Regions from separate parts of the Homo sapiens genome. Here region 2 is linked to region 1. The links are contacts of gene promoters, found by promoter capture Hi-C in human tissues and cell types (Jung and others, 2019). All regions are on one chromosome and are shown on one strand. Each heading gives the region's core, a stretch centred on a gene start or on the middle of the fragment in contact. The rest is flanking DNA. Distances are from core to core; before and after follow the strand shown. Region 1 holds the start of SULT4A1 (sulfotransferase family 4A member 1). Region 2 overlaps EFCAB6 (EF-hand calcium binding domain 6).

Region 1 (3,498 bases), core at 461-2,960:
GTCCCCCTCCTTCTTGGGCCCTCACGGTTTTCCAAGGGCAACGGAGCACCCATAAGGCAGGGGAGAGGCTGGCCGTGGACCGGGAGACCTAGCTAGACCTGACCTCTGTCCCTCAGCAACTGTGTGACTCCGAACAATTTGTGCCTTCTCTGAGCCTCTGAAAAAAAGGTGTAAGAGTCCCTCACAGATTAACAGCGATAGAGCACTTGGCCCGCAGGACTTAATGAGTGGCCACAGAAGCCAACGACACGCTTAGCCATTCCTAAAGCATTTTAGGTCCCACCCCATGCGGCGACTGGCATGTGCTCAAGATAGCAGCCCATCGAACGCTCTGTTCTCCAACCAACACCCTCCACTGAGAGTCCCTACTCCAATCTTCCTCAGAAGAATGTCAGAGACCTGCCCTCAGGTGTCTGGAACTCCATACAGCTACAACAGCCAAGCCTACAGCTTTTCCTGAAACTGCCCGACTGCTGGTCCGGCGTGACCTTAGAGCCAGACACCTTCTAAACCACGCTGTGATTGCCTCAAATACAGTGGCAACAAGGAAATCCCAGGGCATGTTTACAGAACAGGAAAGCTGCTACCTCCTTTCCCTAAAAACCTCAGATGGGGTACTATACAATCTCCTACCTCAGGTCTGGAAACAGACCAGCCTAGCTTTAATTCCCAGGTCAGCCACTCACCAGCTGAGTGACCTTGGACCAGCCTCTTCCCCTCTCTGAGCCTCTGTGCCTAGACTGTAAAGTGGGAATGACCACCACTAGCTCACACAGCTGTTATTGTGAAAGTGACGTCAGCTAATGCTGGGAAATGTGAATGCCCCAGGTCCTGCCTCGGTGATGGAGGCAGCCCTGAAACAAGAGAATGTACAAGCAAGGCACTCCAGGCGGGGACTGGTCCCATCCCCCACCCGGAGCCCAGGCTGGAAAGGAGGGACGTTACGTTTCCACGCTGAAAGCCCTGACGCCCATGTTATCTCCCTTCCCAGGTGAACACCAGGACTTTGCACTCATCAAAGGTTGGGCAGGATTCAGGAACAGAGAGGTTGAGTGACCTGTCCAAGGTCACACAGCCAGCCAGGTAAAGGGAGAAGCAGGGATGGGTGGCGGCCCTGGGCCCATCCTCCTGCAGCGCCGGCCAAATAGGCTCCATCTCCACGGAAGGGGCCGCTCCCGAAGGTCTCTGACCTTGGTTTCCCCAGATGAGAACCAAGCCCCTTCCCACCCCCACCCCACCCCACCCCGCCCCGCAGGGATCCGAGCATCGGGAGAGCGGTGGGCACGGCAGGGGCGGAGGCCAAGGGCGACCACCCGGCCCAGCAGAAGCCCCGGGCGCGGGCGCGGCGTCTACGCGGCCGCGCTGCAGGGCTGGGGCATGGCGTGGCGGGCGCGGTCGGCGCGGGGCTCACCGGACTTGGGGTAGGTGACGATCCACACGTCGCTGGGCCGCACCGGGAAGTTGGCGATCTCCTCCATCTTCCCGCGGCAGAAGGGCGGCAGCCGCACGCCATGGAACTCGAAGTACTTGCTCTCGAACTCCCCCGGGGTGCTGGGGGTCTCGGCCTCGCTCTCCGCCATGCCGCCGCCGTCGCCGTCGCCGCCGCCGCCTCCCGGCTCGCAGCCCGCACGCGCCCGCGCCCGCGCCCGCGCCCGCGCCCCGCACACGCTCGCGCCCCACCGGCGCGCGGCGGCAGCTCCGCAGGCGTGACGTCATGGCGCCGCCGACGCGCGGCGGAGGCTCCGCGGGTATGACGTCATGGCGCCGCCCGGCACGCGGCCGCGGCGCTGCACGGGCGTGACGTCATGGCGCCGCGGAGCCGCGTCCTCCCCGCCCCGCCCCCGGCCGGGGTCACCCACCCGCTGCCGGGGCTGACAGAGACCCTGGCCCGCGGTCTGCAGCCTCCTCAGTCGTGCGTGCGTTCATTCCGCTCATAGCTTCTGTCACTCAGCAAGCGCTCAACACAGACGCATGAGATACCCTGGCTGGAAGGCCCTGAAAGGTAGTCGTCCATTCAACACGTGCTTAGCGCGCTGCTGATCTGTGCCAGGCACTGGGCCAGGGCCCCGACACGCGTCAGGGTAGAAGCAAGCAGAAGCCTGGCCCTGTTGGAGCTTACATTGGTAAATAACCAAGATAATTTCAGGTAAATATTAGGTCCTATTAAAAATATGCGTCTTCGCCAGGCGCGGTGGATCACGCCTGTAATCTCAGCACTTTGAGAGGTCGAGCACGGGCGGATCTCCTGAGGTCAAGAGTTCGAGACCAACCTGGGTAAATGGTGAAACCGCATCTCTACAAACATACAAAAAAAAAAATTAGCAGTGAGCTGTGAGCTTGCACCACTGCACTCCAGTCTGGGCAACAGGACGAGATCTTCTAACAACAACAAAAAAAAAGTATGGGCCACCTAGTCCAGCCAAAAAAACAAAGTGCTTTTTTTTTGCTTTTTTTTTTTTTTTTTTTTTTTTGAGATGGAGTCTCGCTGTGTCGCCCAGGCTGGAGTGCAGGGGCGCGATCTCAGCTCACTGCAAGCTCCACCTCCCGGGTTTACGCCATTCTCCTGGCTCAGCCTCCCGAGTAGCTGGGACTACAGGCACATGCCACCATGCCTGGCTAATTTTTTGTATTTTTTGTTTGTTTGTTTTAGTAGAGACGGGGTTTCATCGTGTTAGCCAGGATGGTCTCAATCTCCTGACCTCGTGATCTGCCCACCTTGGCCTCCCAAAGTGCTGGGATTACAGGTGTGAACCACCTCGCCCAGCCAAAAAGTGCTTCTTAATATCCCATGAGTAGGGGAGGGGAGTGTTGGATTGCAAATTCCAGGACCCCAGATCTATGGAGAAAAATTACAAAAATATACATTTAGTAAGGCACTTCTTGTGCAAACTATAATTTGAGAGCAACCGAGTTCTAGAGATCTCAGTGCAACCCCTTGCCAGTCATGCACTCAACAGACATATATGAAGCACCTACTAACATGCCTGGGGAAGCACAAAGATGAAAACAACACAGCCTGCTCTCATTCTCTGCAGCCGAGCATCATCAGCTGTGTAAAGGAAAAGAATGATTCCTACCTCTAAGTAGTGTAGCCAGGAAGATGGAAGGAGTTTACACCAACAAGAATCTGGAGCAGAGTGGCTGGACGGGACCTATTCCTACTCTCTCCTTCTTACTGTAGAGTGAGACACGTGCATTCTGACACCAAAGACATACACATGGGCTGAGAAGCGCAGGCCATGTGTACATAGCAGACAGAGAGAGGAAACAGCAATTAATCCTGACTTGGGAAGCTTGTAGATGTCTTTCCAAAAAAGAAAGAGGACATTCCGAGCACCCAGCCTTTATTCAGAATAATTAGGCCAATGGCAAAAGGGCATCTAGCCAAAAGCTAGAGGGATTGAGTGAATGAATGAATATCCTGATGTTTCAGGTGAGGGTTCTCACTGTGGGAGAAGGAAAATGTAAGTGGGGAATGCGAGAAGGCAGGGAAGAACT
Region 2 (3,275 bases), core at 621-3,120, 120 kb before region 1:
TGGGACAGATGGGTGAACGGATGGGTGGGTGGATGATGGATAGATAGGTAAATGGATGAATGAATGGATGAAGGGATGAATGATGAATGAATGAATGAATGAATGGGTTATGGATGCATGGATGGATGAACGGATGAATGGATGAATGATGAATGAATGAATGAATGAATGAATGGATGGGTTATGGATGGATGGATGGGTAGATGGATGGATGGATGATGGATAGATGGGTAGATGGATGAATGGATGGATGATGAATGAATGGATGGAAGGGCTATGGACAGATGGATGTGGGGATGGATGATGAAGGATGGATGGGTGGATGGATGAGTGGGTGGGTAGGTGGGGAGATTGCAAGCCAAGACAATCCTTGTAGAGACAGGACAGGAACCTGCAAAAAGGGTAGACAAGCATCTCATTTCCCAGTGGATTCAGTGATCTGCTCTGCACCTACCTGGGAAGAGGAACTGAGACTCAGACAGACACAGCAGAGCAAGGCAGAAGCAGCAGATGAAAGCAGCCTGAACACCTATTTTGGTATGGACGGGACTTGTGAATTTTCCATGGGTTAAGAGGACACCATGACAGGTAGAAATCTTGAGCTGTCCTGTTCCCAAGGGACTGCTCATCAGGGAAGGGGACCCAAGCAGCCAAAGGAAGTGAGCTGGACCACCAGGAGTGGGAGCTGAGGGGGTCCAGAGGGGGCTAAGTCAGGGCTGATCTTCCTCAACAGGAAACCATGAAGTTCAGAGGCCCCCAAAGCACTGTCCTAATTACTCCCCACGGACCCTATAGGAGAGCTTCCCAGAGAGGACCCAGATAAGGGAGAGAGAGACATGCTCTCCTTCCCCAGCCCTCATCACAGACCCCATGATCTGGGGGAGAGAGGAAGCAGAAAGAAGGAGGGAGGTACAGCCAGTGAGCAGGCCCTACCCACTCCAGGGCCCTCGGGCTTGGAGGAGCTGAGAAGGGCGTGCTGAACCAGCCCCACACTTGAGGTTTAAACTGAACTCGCCTGCACTGGACCTGTTTAGACCTAAATGTGACCAGAGAGCCACCAGATCTGCTGAAGATATTCCTATGGGACAAGAGAGGGAGATTCAGCAGCTCCTGTTGGAGAAAACTGAGAGCTAAGAAATCAAACTGCTTCATATTTGTACCCCACTGAGTTCAGATGGTTCCATAAACTGCTAACCATGGATGCTATTATTACTCCAGAGTTCTTTGTTTAAAATTCTTTTTATAGCACTTTGAGCTCCAGGAAGGAAAACTGTGAACTCAAATAAATCTGACCACCCAGGCTTTAAAGAAGATGAGAAAAGGCTGAATGTTTCCCCTCTGAAGCCCAGAATTCCCACTCCGCCTGGAAAACAATCCCTCTGGAGGCCTGGCACTAACGTGGCCCTTCCCGGAGGCAGGCCAAGCTTCTTCATGCCACAGCATAACCCGCAGACGAACTTAAACCTTCTACAATTTCATTCTTATTGGCTTCCGTGTAGCTGTTTTCTGTGCAGCTCCTCACCCGGAGCCACTTTTTCTCACCTGGCTTCTAAGAGAAGGGGGTCAGGAACCGCATCCCACCCGCCTGCCTGTAGACTGAGACTGAGTCCCAAGGGGAGGGGGCTTCGGGCACCCCCATGTCTTGGCTCAGCAGCAAGCGGAAGAGTTCAACACCCACGGCTGTCAGTCTGGCACCTTTCTGTCTCCACCACTAAATTCATTTTAAATTTAAGAAGTACAGATTTGAAATGAAACCATGAAAAAGGATTTCTCTTACAATAAACACATCAATGCTCATTTTCCTTATTATTCTACTTTTGGCTATTTTGTATAAAATCTTTAATTAAAGTTTTTCTTTGAAATTGTCATTATCAACCCAGAAGAAAGGAAGGGGGAAAAAAGAACAACACAGCTGTGCAGATATGAAGCACTATTCAGGACTAAATGAACTGGAACGAAATAAGTAGCTTGACTGTTATGTTCTTAGTTTTGGCTCTGTATTCTCAATAGCACAGTCTAACTTGTCACTTTATATCGATTCCATCTGTTTACACTCTGCAGAGTATTGGCTTCCTACCGTGAACATTTCCTATTTACCAGCTGGTAGAGATGCGCCAAACCAGATAGGAAAAAATTAGACTACATTCAGAACCTCATAAACACAAACTTCCAATCCGGGGACAAGCGGGAAGCGGGGGCCGGGCATCGCTCACCTTTCACAAAAGCCTCGCCTCCCTGCCTCTGGGCTGATGCTCTCATTGCTCTGGCAGTTGCCCTCGCAGGCCAAGGACTACAAATTTCTTTACTGACCATAGGCATACCCTGCCTTTACCAAAAATCGAAAAAGCTTACTGAAAAAGATATCCAAATAAGATCCACAAAAATGGAGAAAAGAAAGCTGACCCCGAAAAAATGAGCTAAAGAAACCTAAAAGTCATAGTTGACACAATGAAGCAAAACTCTGGTTCGGGGTCTCCTTGCAGCCAAGATGAAGAGGGAAACTCGTGCTTATATAAAGTCCACAGGCCATGTAAACCTTCCCCCACATTCAATTTTTCATTTTTAAAATGCTTACCTGTAACGTATAGCTTATAGACTTCTTTTAAGAAACTCTAGCTACCCATTGAGCTTACGATACAGCTATGAAAAGGTGCCCCGTCTATAAGCTGAGGGACTTACAAGGGTGCCAGGCTGGGTGCGGTGGCTCATGCCTGTAACCCCAGCACTGTGGGAGGCTGAGGCAAGAGGACTGCTTGAGGCTAGGAGTTCAAGACTAGCCTGGGCAATATAGTAAGACCCCATCTCTACAAAAAATTAGAAATTAAAATTTTAAAAAGGGCTGCTGATCTATAAGAAATCTTTCCTTTCTTTCCTTTCTTTCTTACCCAGCCCACACTCATAGGATGGGTACTCCACCTCAGCTGCCACGGGCCAAGAATCTTGGGGCCCCTAAGAGCCCTGGCCTCAGCTCACTCACAGGACAGAGCTGCACACCAGCAGGGGCAAGCCTGGAAGATCAGAAGCCACTATGCTGACCCAGCATCCTGCTGCTTATCTGGACCTCATGCAAGAGGATGCTGCTTTGAGAAAGACAAACCGCAGAAGACTGTTCAGGTTACGTGAAAAGTTTCCCAGGCTGGGCCAATGCTGGGTACTGCCAAGTGGCTGTAGCACTTTGCCAAGAGCCTAGCCAGCCACAGACCACCTCACCTAAGAAATAGACCAGAATCACATTTTAGAGTAGAAAAAGACTTTGTCTGTCGTCTCCCCCAGCA

The links. The method cuts DNA at HindIII sites, captures the fragments that hold promoters and counts their contacts. A contact is called where the count stands out against the background at its distance.
Region 2: a fragment that was not itself captured here is called in contact with the fragment with the promoter of SULT4A1 in region 1 in 2 of the 25 tissues and cell types used here (dorsolateral prefrontal cortex and hippocampus).

What each region holds. Positions count from the first base shown.
Region 1 is chr22:43,860,803-43,864,300 of GRCh38, forward strand. SULT4A1 (sulfotransferase family 4A member 1) reads right to left here and starts at 1,711. Exons shown (of 7, transcript NM_014351.4): 1 at 1,412-1,711. The coding sequence starts at 1,580. RefSeq lists an enhancer at 1-26. The HindIII fragment of the contact is 9,350 bases long and covers 1-3,498 here.
Region 2 is chr22:43,743,940-43,747,214 of GRCh38, forward strand. All of the region lies in intron 6 of EFCAB6 (EF-hand calcium binding domain 6), which reads right to left. Among named protein-coding and RNA genes, the nearest start is that of EFCAB6, 67 kb to the right of the region's middle. The HindIII fragment of the contact is 4,866 bases long and covers 1-3,275 here.